Regions from separate parts of the Homo sapiens genome. Here region 2 is linked to region 1. The links are contacts of gene promoters, found by promoter capture Hi-C in human tissues and cell types (Jung and others, 2019). All regions are on one chromosome and are shown on one strand. Each heading gives the region's core, a stretch centred on a gene start or on the middle of the fragment in contact. The rest is flanking DNA. Distances are from core to core; before and after follow the strand shown.

What was found. Contacts are between HindIII fragments. The study calls those that stand out against the background at their distance.
Region 2: a contact is called between the fragment with the promoter of HEXIM2 here and the fragment with the promoter of GFAP in region 1, in 1 of the 25 tissues and cell types used here (lymphoblastoid cells).

Annotation. Positions count from the first base shown.
Region 1 is chr17:44,914,250-44,918,847 of GRCh38, reverse strand. It overlaps GFAP (glial fibrillary acidic protein), which reads left to right and starts at 3,348. Exons shown (of 9, transcript NM_002055.5): 1 at 3,348-3,822. The coding sequence starts at 3,362. LOC105371793 (a long non-coding RNA gene) reads right to left here and starts at 129. Exons shown (of 2, transcript XR_934781.3): 1 at 1-129. The HindIII fragment of the contact is 9,658 bases long and covers 1-4,598 here.
Region 2 is chr17:45,159,452-45,164,049 of GRCh38, reverse strand. HEXIM2 (HEXIM P-TEFb complex subunit 2) reads right to left here and starts at 2,175. Exons shown (of 4, transcript NM_001303441.2): 1 at 2,019-2,175; 2 at 1,415-1,562; 3 at 1,191-1,300. The coding sequence starts at 1,256. HEXIM2-AS1 (HEXIM2 antisense RNA 1) reads left to right here and starts at 2,512. Exons shown (of 3, transcript NR_186789.1): 1 at 2,512-2,589; 2 at 4,558-4,598. RefSeq lists enhancers at 1,936-2,065, 2,076-2,275, 1,693-2,308, 2,426-2,655, 2,309-2,924 and 1 more. The HindIII fragment of the contact is 41,438 bases long and covers 1-4,598 here.

The DNA.
Region 1 (4,598 bases), core at 2,099-4,598:
CTTTGGTTCTCTGTGCAGACACCTTTAGATAGTTAAGGGTTGGCCAGGCGTGATCTATATGTACCGGTTGTATAGGTCATGCCTGTAATCCCAGCACTTTGGGAGGAAGAGGTGGGAGGGTCACTTGAGCCCAACAGTTCGAGACCAGCCTGGGCAACATGGCGAAACCTTGTCTCTAGTAAAATACAAAAATGAGCTGGGCATGGTGGTGTATCTCTGTGGTCCCAGCTACTAGAGAGGCTGAGGTGGGTGGATCGCTTGAGCCAGGGAGATTGAGGCTGTAGTGAGCTGTGATAGCACCACTTCACTCTAGCCTGGGCAACAGAGCAAGACCCTGTCTCAAAAAACAAAAACAAGATAGTTAAGGGTTGAGTGTGAGGAAAGGTCTGAGGGTTGAGAAGGGGTGGAGGATGCACCTGGGCCTATGACAGGGGTCCACGGAGGTGGCTGATGGCAAAAGCTGGGGGACTCCAACTGCTGATGCTGAAACAAGCTTGTGTCTCACATACACAGGGACAGTTCACTGAGCTTCAATGACAGGCACCTCCTGCTCATCACATCTTTTCTCTCTAGGACAGCTTTGCCCTTATTTTAACTAGACTTCCCTTGAACCAAAAGGGAAGGCTACATGCTGTGACTTGCTGGGCAGCCTGGAAAGGCGGGCCACTCCTAGCCACAGAGATGAGACAGAGTTCAGACAAGAGCTTATCCCCAGTCTTCCTTTTCTATTTTGTTTATTTTATTTTATTTTTTTATTTATTGAGACAGAGTCTCTGTCACCCAGGCTGGGGTGCAGTGATGCGACATTGGCTTACTGCAGTCTCCACCTCCTGGGCTCAGGTGATCCTCCCACCTCAGCCTCCCGAATAGCTGGGATCACAGTAGTGCACCACCATACCTGGCTAATTTTTTTGTATTTTTTGTACAGACAAAATTTCACCACATTGCCCAGGCTGGTCTCGAACTCCTGGACTCAAGCGATCCGCCCACCTCAGCCTCCCAAAGTGCTCGGATTACAGGCATGAGCCACTATGCCCAGCCTTGCTCTTCCTTTAAAGCCTCCTGTCCTTCCCCAGGTCCCCAGTTCATAGCAGGATCAAAGGTCACTGGGCGCTCACCCCGTCTTCAAGATGCTCTTTCCTATGTCACTGCTTACGCCCAGGTCAGATGTGACTAGAGCCTAAGGAGCTCCCACCTCCCTCTCTGTGCTGGGACTCACAGAGGGAGACCTCAGGAGGCAGTCTGTCCATCACATGTCCAAATGCAGAGCATACCCTGGGCTGGGCGCAGTGGCGCACAACTGTAATTCCAGCACTTTGGGAGGCTGATGTGGAAGGATCACTTGAGCCCAGAAGTTCTAGACCAGCCTGGGCAACATGGCAAGACCCTATCTCTACAAAAAAAGTTAAAAAATCAGCCACGTGTGGTGACACACACCTGTAGTCCCAGCTATTCAGGAGGCTGAGGTGAGGGGATCACTTAAGGCTGGGAGGTTGAGGCTGCAGTGAGTCGTGGTTGCGCCACTGCACTCCAGCCTGGGCAACAGTGAGACCCTGTCTCAAAAGACAAAAAAAAAAAAAAAAAAAAAAAGAACATATCCTGGTGTGGAGTAGGGGACGCTGCTCTGACAGAGGCTCGGGGGCCTGAGCTGGCTCTGTGAGCTGGGGAGGAGGCAGACAGCCAGGCCTTGTCTGCAAGCAGACCTGGCAGCATTGGGCTGGCCGCCCCCCAGGGCCTCCTCTTCATGCCCAGTGAATGACTCACCTTGGCACAGACACAATGTTCGGGGTGGGCACAGTGCCTGCTTCCCGCCGCACCCCAGCCCCCCTCAAATGCCTTCCGAGAAGCCCATTGAGCAGGGGGCTTGCATTGCACCCCAGCCTGACAGCCTGGCATCTTGGGATAAAAGCAGCACAGCCCCCTAGGGGCTGCCCTTGCTGTGTGGCGCCACCGGCGGTGGAGAACAAGGCTCTATTCAGCCTGTGCCCAGGAAAGGGGATCAGGGGATGCCCAGGCATGGACAGTGGGTGGCAGGGGGGGAGAGGAGGGCTGTCTGCTTCCCAGAAGTCCAAGGACACAAATGGGTGAGGGGACTGGGCAGGGTTCTGACCCTGTGGGACCAGAGTGGAGGGCGTAGATGGACCTGAAGTCTCCAGGGACAACAGGGCCCAGGTCTCAGGCTCCTAGTTGGGCCCAGTGGCTCCAGCGTTTCCAAACCCATCCATCCCCAGAGGTTCTTCCCATCTCTCCAGGCTGATGTGTGGGAACTCGAGGAAATAAATCTCCAGTGGGAGACGGAGGGGTGGCCAGGGAAACGGGGCGCTGCAGGAATAAAGACGAGCCAGCACAGCCAGCTCATGTGTAACGGCTTTGTGGAGCTGTCAAGGCCTGGTCTCTGGGAGAGAGGCACAGGGAGGCCAGACAAGGAAGGGGTGACCTGGAGGGACAGATCCAGGGGCTAAAGTCCTGATAAGGCAAGAGAGTGCCGGCCCCCTCTTGCCCTATCAGGACCTCCACTGCCACATAGAGGCCATGATTGACCCTTAGACAAAGGGCTGGTGTCCAATCCCAGCCCCCAGCCCCAGAACTCCAGGGAATGAATGGGCAGAGAGCAGGAATGTGGGACATCTGTGTTCAAGGGAAGGACTCCAGGAGTCTGCTGGGAATGAGGCCTAGTAGGAAATGAGGTGGCCCTTGAGGGTACAGAACAGGTTCATTCTTCGCCAAATTCCCAGCACCTTGCAGGCACTTACAGCTGAGTGAGATAATGCCTGGGTTATGAAATCAAAAAGTTGGAAAGCAGGTCAGAGGTCATCTGGTACAGCCCTTCCTTCCCTTTTTTTTTTTTTTTTTTGTGAGACAAGGTCTCTCTCTGTTGCCCAGGCTGGAGTGGCGCAAACACAGCTCACTGCAGCCTCAACCTACTGGGCTCAAGCAATCCTCCAGCCTCAGCCTCCCAAAGTGCTGGGATTACAAGCATGAGCCACCCCACTCAGCCCTTTCCTTCCTTTTTAATTGATGCATAATAATTGTAAGTATTCATCATGGTCCAACCAACCCTTTCTTGACCCACCTTCCTAGAGAGAGGGTCCTCTTGCTTCAGCGGTCAGGGCCCCAGACCCATGGTCTGGCTCCAGGTACCACCTGCCTCATGCAGGAGTTGGCGTGCCCAGGAAGCTCTGCCTCTGGGCACAGTGACCTCAGTGGGGTGAGGGGAGCTCTCCCCATAGCTGGGCTGCGGCCCAACCCCACCCCCTCAGGCTATGCCAGGGGGTGTTGCCAGGGGCACCCGGGCATCGCCAGTCTAGCCCACTCCTTCATAAAGCCCTCGCATCCCAGGAGCGAGCAGAGCCAGAGCAGGATGGAGAGGAGACGCATCACCTCCGCTGCTCGCCGCTCCTACGTCTCCTCAGGGGAGATGATGGTGGGGGGCCTGGCTCCTGGCCGCCGTCTGGGTCCTGGCACCCGCCTCTCCCTGGCTCGAATGCCCCCTCCACTCCCGACCCGGGTGGATTTCTCCCTGGCTGGGGCACTCAATGCTGGCTTCAAGGAGACCCGGGCCAGTGAGCGGGCAGAGATGATGGAGCTCAATGACCGCTTTGCCAGCTACATCGAGAAGGTTCGCTTCCTGGAACAGCAAAACAAGGCGCTGGCTGCTGAGCTGAACCAGCTGCGGGCCAAGGAGCCCACCAAGCTGGCAGACGTCTACCAGGCTGAGCTGCGAGAGCTGCGGCTGCGGCTCGATCAACTCACCGCCAACAGCGCCCGGCTGGAGGTTGAGAGGGACAATCTGGCACAGGACCTGGCCACTGTGAGGCAGAAGTGAGGAGGGGATGGGGAAGGGGGGCCTTGTGAGCAGAAGGGGCTGAATCCCCAAGAAGGAGTGCCCGAGAAGTCTCAGGGAGGGGCCGAACCTCCCTGCTCCCTGGGCCTCCCTACCTCTTGATGGGGCACTATCCTTGCCCCCCAACATGATGGGAGGGACCAGAAACAGGCCCAGGGCCCCGGGGATCTGATGCCCGCATGCCTTCTGCCAGGAGTCCAGGGTCCCCTCAGCACCTCCCTACTGGGGAAAGCAGTGCAGGAGCAGCGGGGCCCCTGTGTTTCATTCATGGCTGGGCTTTGTGACTGTGGGCAGCGAGCTCACCTATTCTGAGCCTGTGTCCATATAAAGGAGGAGTTGGAAGCGGAGAAGGTTGATGTCCATGAGGGAGATTGGATTCTGGGGTGAAGAAAGTGAGGGAAAGAGCAGGCAGGTCTGGGCGCAAAGCACAGGTGACTGCCTGCCACCAGCTTGTGACCCCCATCAAGTTACTTTGACTTGCACAGCTGTGAAGCGGTGGTCATAATAAAATTCATTTCAAAAGGTGGTTACCTGGGATCAGAGGAATCCCCAGGGGCATGGCGCTTCACTGAGCTGACAGGACATGCATGTGTGCCTTCAAGTGCAGGAGGACATGTGCGTGTGTGTGTGTGTGTGTGCAACAGTGAGTGTATGCTTGTGGATGCGCCTGTGTGAGCAGAAGCAGGTGCACCAACCCTGATAAGGCACCTTAGTAATGAGTTAAGGCAAAAGCCCACATCTGCTCATCCTCCAG
Region 2 (4,598 bases), core at 926-3,425, 250 kb before region 1:
CTGAGTCGCTGGGATTACAGCCGCCTGTCATTACGCCCATCTAATTTTTGTATTTTTAGTAGAGACAGAGTTTCACCATGTTGGCCAGGCTGGTCTTGAACTCTTGACCTCAGGTGATCCACCCACCTCAGCCTCCAAAAGTGCTAGGATTACAGGCGTGAGCCACTGCGCCTGGCCTGTTTTTGTTTTTGTTTCTTTTTTGAGATGGAGTGTCACTCTGTCGCCCAGGCTAAAGTGCAGTGGTGTGATCTCAGCTCACTGCAACCTCTGCATCCTGGGTTCAAGTGATTCTGGTGCATCAGCCTCCTGAGTAGCTGGTATTACAGGCATGTGCCACCATGCCCAGCTAATTTTTGTATTTTTAGTAGAGATGAGGTTTCACCATGTTGGCCAGGCTGGTCTTGAACTTCTGGTCTCAAGTGAATTGCCTGCCTGGGTCCATTCCAAATTATGAACCAAAAACTCTTCTTCCTGCTTCAGACTTGGTTCTTAGCCTGGACAAAATGTAAACATTCAACCCAGTCCCTCCATGCCCTCTTTGGACTTGAGGTCAAGGCAATGTTCTGTTGTCAGAAGGCCCTAAGTTTAAACCCTGGGTCTGTTGCTTGTAGATAGCATGATTCTGGAACAGGTATTTCAGGTCTCAGAACCTTAGCTTCTGGGAATTGGAAATAATTCCTACCTGAAAGGGTTACTAGGATTTTTTTTTTTTTTTTTTTTTTTTGAGACGGAGTCTCGCTCTGACGCCCAGGCTGGAGTGCAATTGCGAGATCTTGGCTCACTGCAACCTCCGACCCCTGGGTTCAAGCGATTCTCCTGCCTCAACCTCCCAAGTAGCTGGGATCACAGGCATGCGCCACCACTATGCCAGGCTAATTTTGCATTTTCAGTACAGCCAGGGTTTTGCCATGTTGGTCAGGCTGGTCTCGAACTCCTGACCTCAGGTGATCCACCCACCTAGGCCTCCCAAAGTGCTGGGATTACAGGTGTGAGCCACCGCACCCGGCCAGTTACTAAGATTTCATCAGCTAGCATAGACTGGGATTCCGGCCTATTGCCTAGTGCATAGTACTGATTCGTCAAAATACTGGTTTTCCAAATCTACCAACACATCTGGGACAAGAAGTTTGGATCTCAGCTGTGGGACCCGTGCTCGTGGTGCTTGGGTGGGCAGGAGGGCAGGGACTTACCTTGGCCTCCTCCAGGGCCACTGGTGACTCTGCATTACAGGCGGTCTGGTTCGGAGTGGCCATCATCTTCTGTTCCAAATCTTTCAGCAGACGCCTGGAACTAGTGACACCTGCTTTGAACAACAACAGAAACCTAAATCCTGAAGGAACGTCAGGAATACTCTGGCTGCCCAGAATTGTTTGCCCAGGCAGTGGCAGCCATTTTGTACCCCAGCCCTTCATACCCTTATTCTCAAATGCAGGCCCCGAAGGCTGCCTCCACCGCTGGTTTTCACACCTCCAGCCAGCAAGGGGCCAAATGGGATTCAGGGGCCGTCTTCTCTGTCCTGCTCCTCGGGTCCCTCACCAGGACTCATGTCCTGTACTGTCCTCCTGGAAGTCACCGAGGCCCAGGTTGGCAGCCAGGAAGCCAGGTGTAAGTTTTGTTTCCCCAACCACCAAAGGGGCAAAGGAGGACTGCCTGGGGAGGCTGGGAGTGCAGCGGGGCTGCTGCTGCCACGGGAGAACATGGAGCAAGCTCACGAGTCCTTCCCCACTGTCTCCAGTGGCCCCAATCTTGATGCAGCCCTGCACCCCCAACCTTCTCCCCAAGCTGGGCTCCAAAGGCCAGAAGCACAGCTGGGACCTGGGCCAGCCTAGTGCTGAGGACTTTTCCTCTAAGGTCCTGGCCTGCCTCCCTCCTTCCTCTCAGAAAGGGAAACAGGAGAAAAGGGGAAAGAGGTCTTTGCACTACATGCAGCTGGGAGGGAAACCCAACTAGGATAAGGATGGATTTCTTGGAAGAAGGGAGACAGTCATGGAAAGAGGTTTTGCAAAGGTGGAACTGACCTATTCGCTGTCAAGGGCTATGCACACCACTACATCTGTGTGCCTTTCTGTGCGACTGCCTGTCGGTGCAATTCCCAACGCCTGAGCCCTACCTCTTGCTGCAGTTGCAGCAGCTCTGGTCAAGCCGCTCAGGCCACTAAGATGGGGGGGAAGAGAGAGCCTGGACGCGCGGTGCCTGCTGGGGATTGTAGTTCTTCTGGCCTGAAAAGCGATCCAAGGGCCTGTAACGTCAACAGCCACACCCGAGACTCCAAAACCCATCTACCCTTGCGCGGGGGCAGACCGCGCGCGCATCACTGCCTTCTTTGATTGGTCAAGCCTTCTGCCAATATTCTCGCTTTTTTGGCAACGATTAGCTGTGAGGAGGCACAACTGGACCCGCCTTCTCCGAACTCAATTAAAGAGTTCATTGATGGCGTTAATCTTTACGGGGCAGAAAATAGATCCGGCTAAGGTGGGCGGGGCAGCAGGCGCGGAGGGATCCTTGGCCTTTGAGGAAGGCGACGAGAAGCTCGGCGGCCATCGCCGCCATTTTGGGCTGGGAGGAGGCAGCGGAGGGACTCGCTGCGCAGTGAGAGCACCCCGTGGGGGGTGGTCCGGGCGCGGGGAGAGGCCGGGCCGAGTGGGCTACCTGAAGTGGCGGCGCCGGGAGACGGCGGGAAGTGGGACCGGGGGCCAGGGAGGGTGAAGGTTGGAGTCTCCTCGGCCGAGCCCGGTCCTCAAACCGTCCCGGCAGCCCCGCAGCCTCGCCTCTCACAGAGTGCGGGGTTCTTCGGTAATTACCGCGTGTTTCCCGAGACCCCAGAAGGGGAGAGGCTGGTGAAACGGCTTCCCTCTGCGGTCTTTCCACAGGGGCGCGGATCCTGAGGCCGAGCTCTGCCAGCTTCCCTCCCCACCCCCATTCGGCCTGGGTATGGCGGCGAGGCCCCGCACAGAGGGACTCCCACTTCGACTGGAGAGGTGGGGGCGACGCCAGATTCCAGAGGCTGGCGCCGCGGGGGAGGGCGGAGGTCGCAGGTCTGGCCACAAGTCGGCGTGGCAGTCAGCTGGAGGCTCCGAGAGCGGAGATCCCAGTGCACCCACCTTACCTCGCTTACACCAAAGCGCCATCTCGCCGCCCGGGTTGCGAAAAACCACGACCCTCTTAAACTACTGTAGCAACCACTAATTCCCCCTGGGAGCAGCTAGAGAGGGGCACTTGGAAACCTTCACGAGCTCGGTGCCTGAAGGTCTCTGAGGCTCTTGCCCTCAAGATCTCTCCCATTCAGCCCCGATTCTCCGGACAACCTGACCTAGCATGTCGCCAGCCTCTTGGTGAAACGCCTAAAGTGTGCTGCCCCACTTCTCTTGAAAGTTTACACCGAAGGGATGAGGTTTTGCCCTTTACAGGGTTGGGGCACAAAGTCGGAGTCGCTGCGGCTCCGAAATAGAAACGGAGTTGCCCATTTCGTATGCTTCATCAACATCTGCTTGCATTTTGAAATCCTAGTCTTAACTTTTACACAACTTTTAGAGAAATGGCTGCCCTCCTAGAGGGAAAAACGAACTACAGTAATTCCAATTCCAATGTAATCTTTGTAAGACTACAAAATCTTTCCAGTTTAAAGATTTTTCTTTTCCCACAGACTAAACAAAGTCAGAGTATTTTGTGTTCTACTGGTGCATTGTTACTAGGTAACCTCAATTTTTTGAAATTCCAAGTAATTGAAGGATCACTTTTGTAGATCCTAAATGCTACCAAAAAAGAAACCAGTTTTTATCTACTTCATATGTATAGCGTTTAAGAGATGAGGAGACCTGCTTTGAAAGAATAAACTCTTAACCTTACATTATAGCTGTAGCAGCTTCTTAAAGATTGAAGTTTGATGTGAAGTTCTTTTATTGAATTGCAGGTTAAACCATCTTACTTCCTACTGCTTGAAATCTAAATCCAGAGAGATTTGTGGCTCAAGGATATCTTCAAATAAAAGTTTTATTGCTAAAATGTCAGTTAAAATTATGCCTAGGTAGGTGCTGAAGTAGGAGAGGCTTTGACGTAGCAGAGTGACTGGCAGTGAATTTTGTGGGTACCTTGTGATGAGTCTTATTATCAGTTACAAATGGTCAAAACATGCCTAAGCCTTCAGCCTTACTAAAAGTTTAACAGAACTTGGCCTGGCGCGGTGGCTCACACCTGTAATCCCAGCCCTTTGGGAGGTGGAGGCGGGTGGATCACCTGAGGTCAGGAGTTTGAGACCAACCTGGCCAACATGGTGAAGCCCCTTCTCTACTAAAAATACAAAATTAGCCGGGTGTGGAGTTGCGTGCCTGTAATCCCAGCTACTCGGGAGGCTGAGGCAGGAGAATCGCTTGAACCCAGGAGGCAGAGTTTGCCATGAGCCTCTCACCGTTGCACTCCAGCCTGGGTGACAGAGTAAGACTCTGTCTCAAAAAAAAAAAAAAGTTTTCCAGAACTGAAGTTCTGCTCCTCCTATTAATAATTTTTCTTCAGTTGGAGTGACAACTCCATAGCATTAACTTTTTTCCCTCTGCTCCCCAGATGTTTTACAACTGGATTACAAAATAGGATCATCATTGACT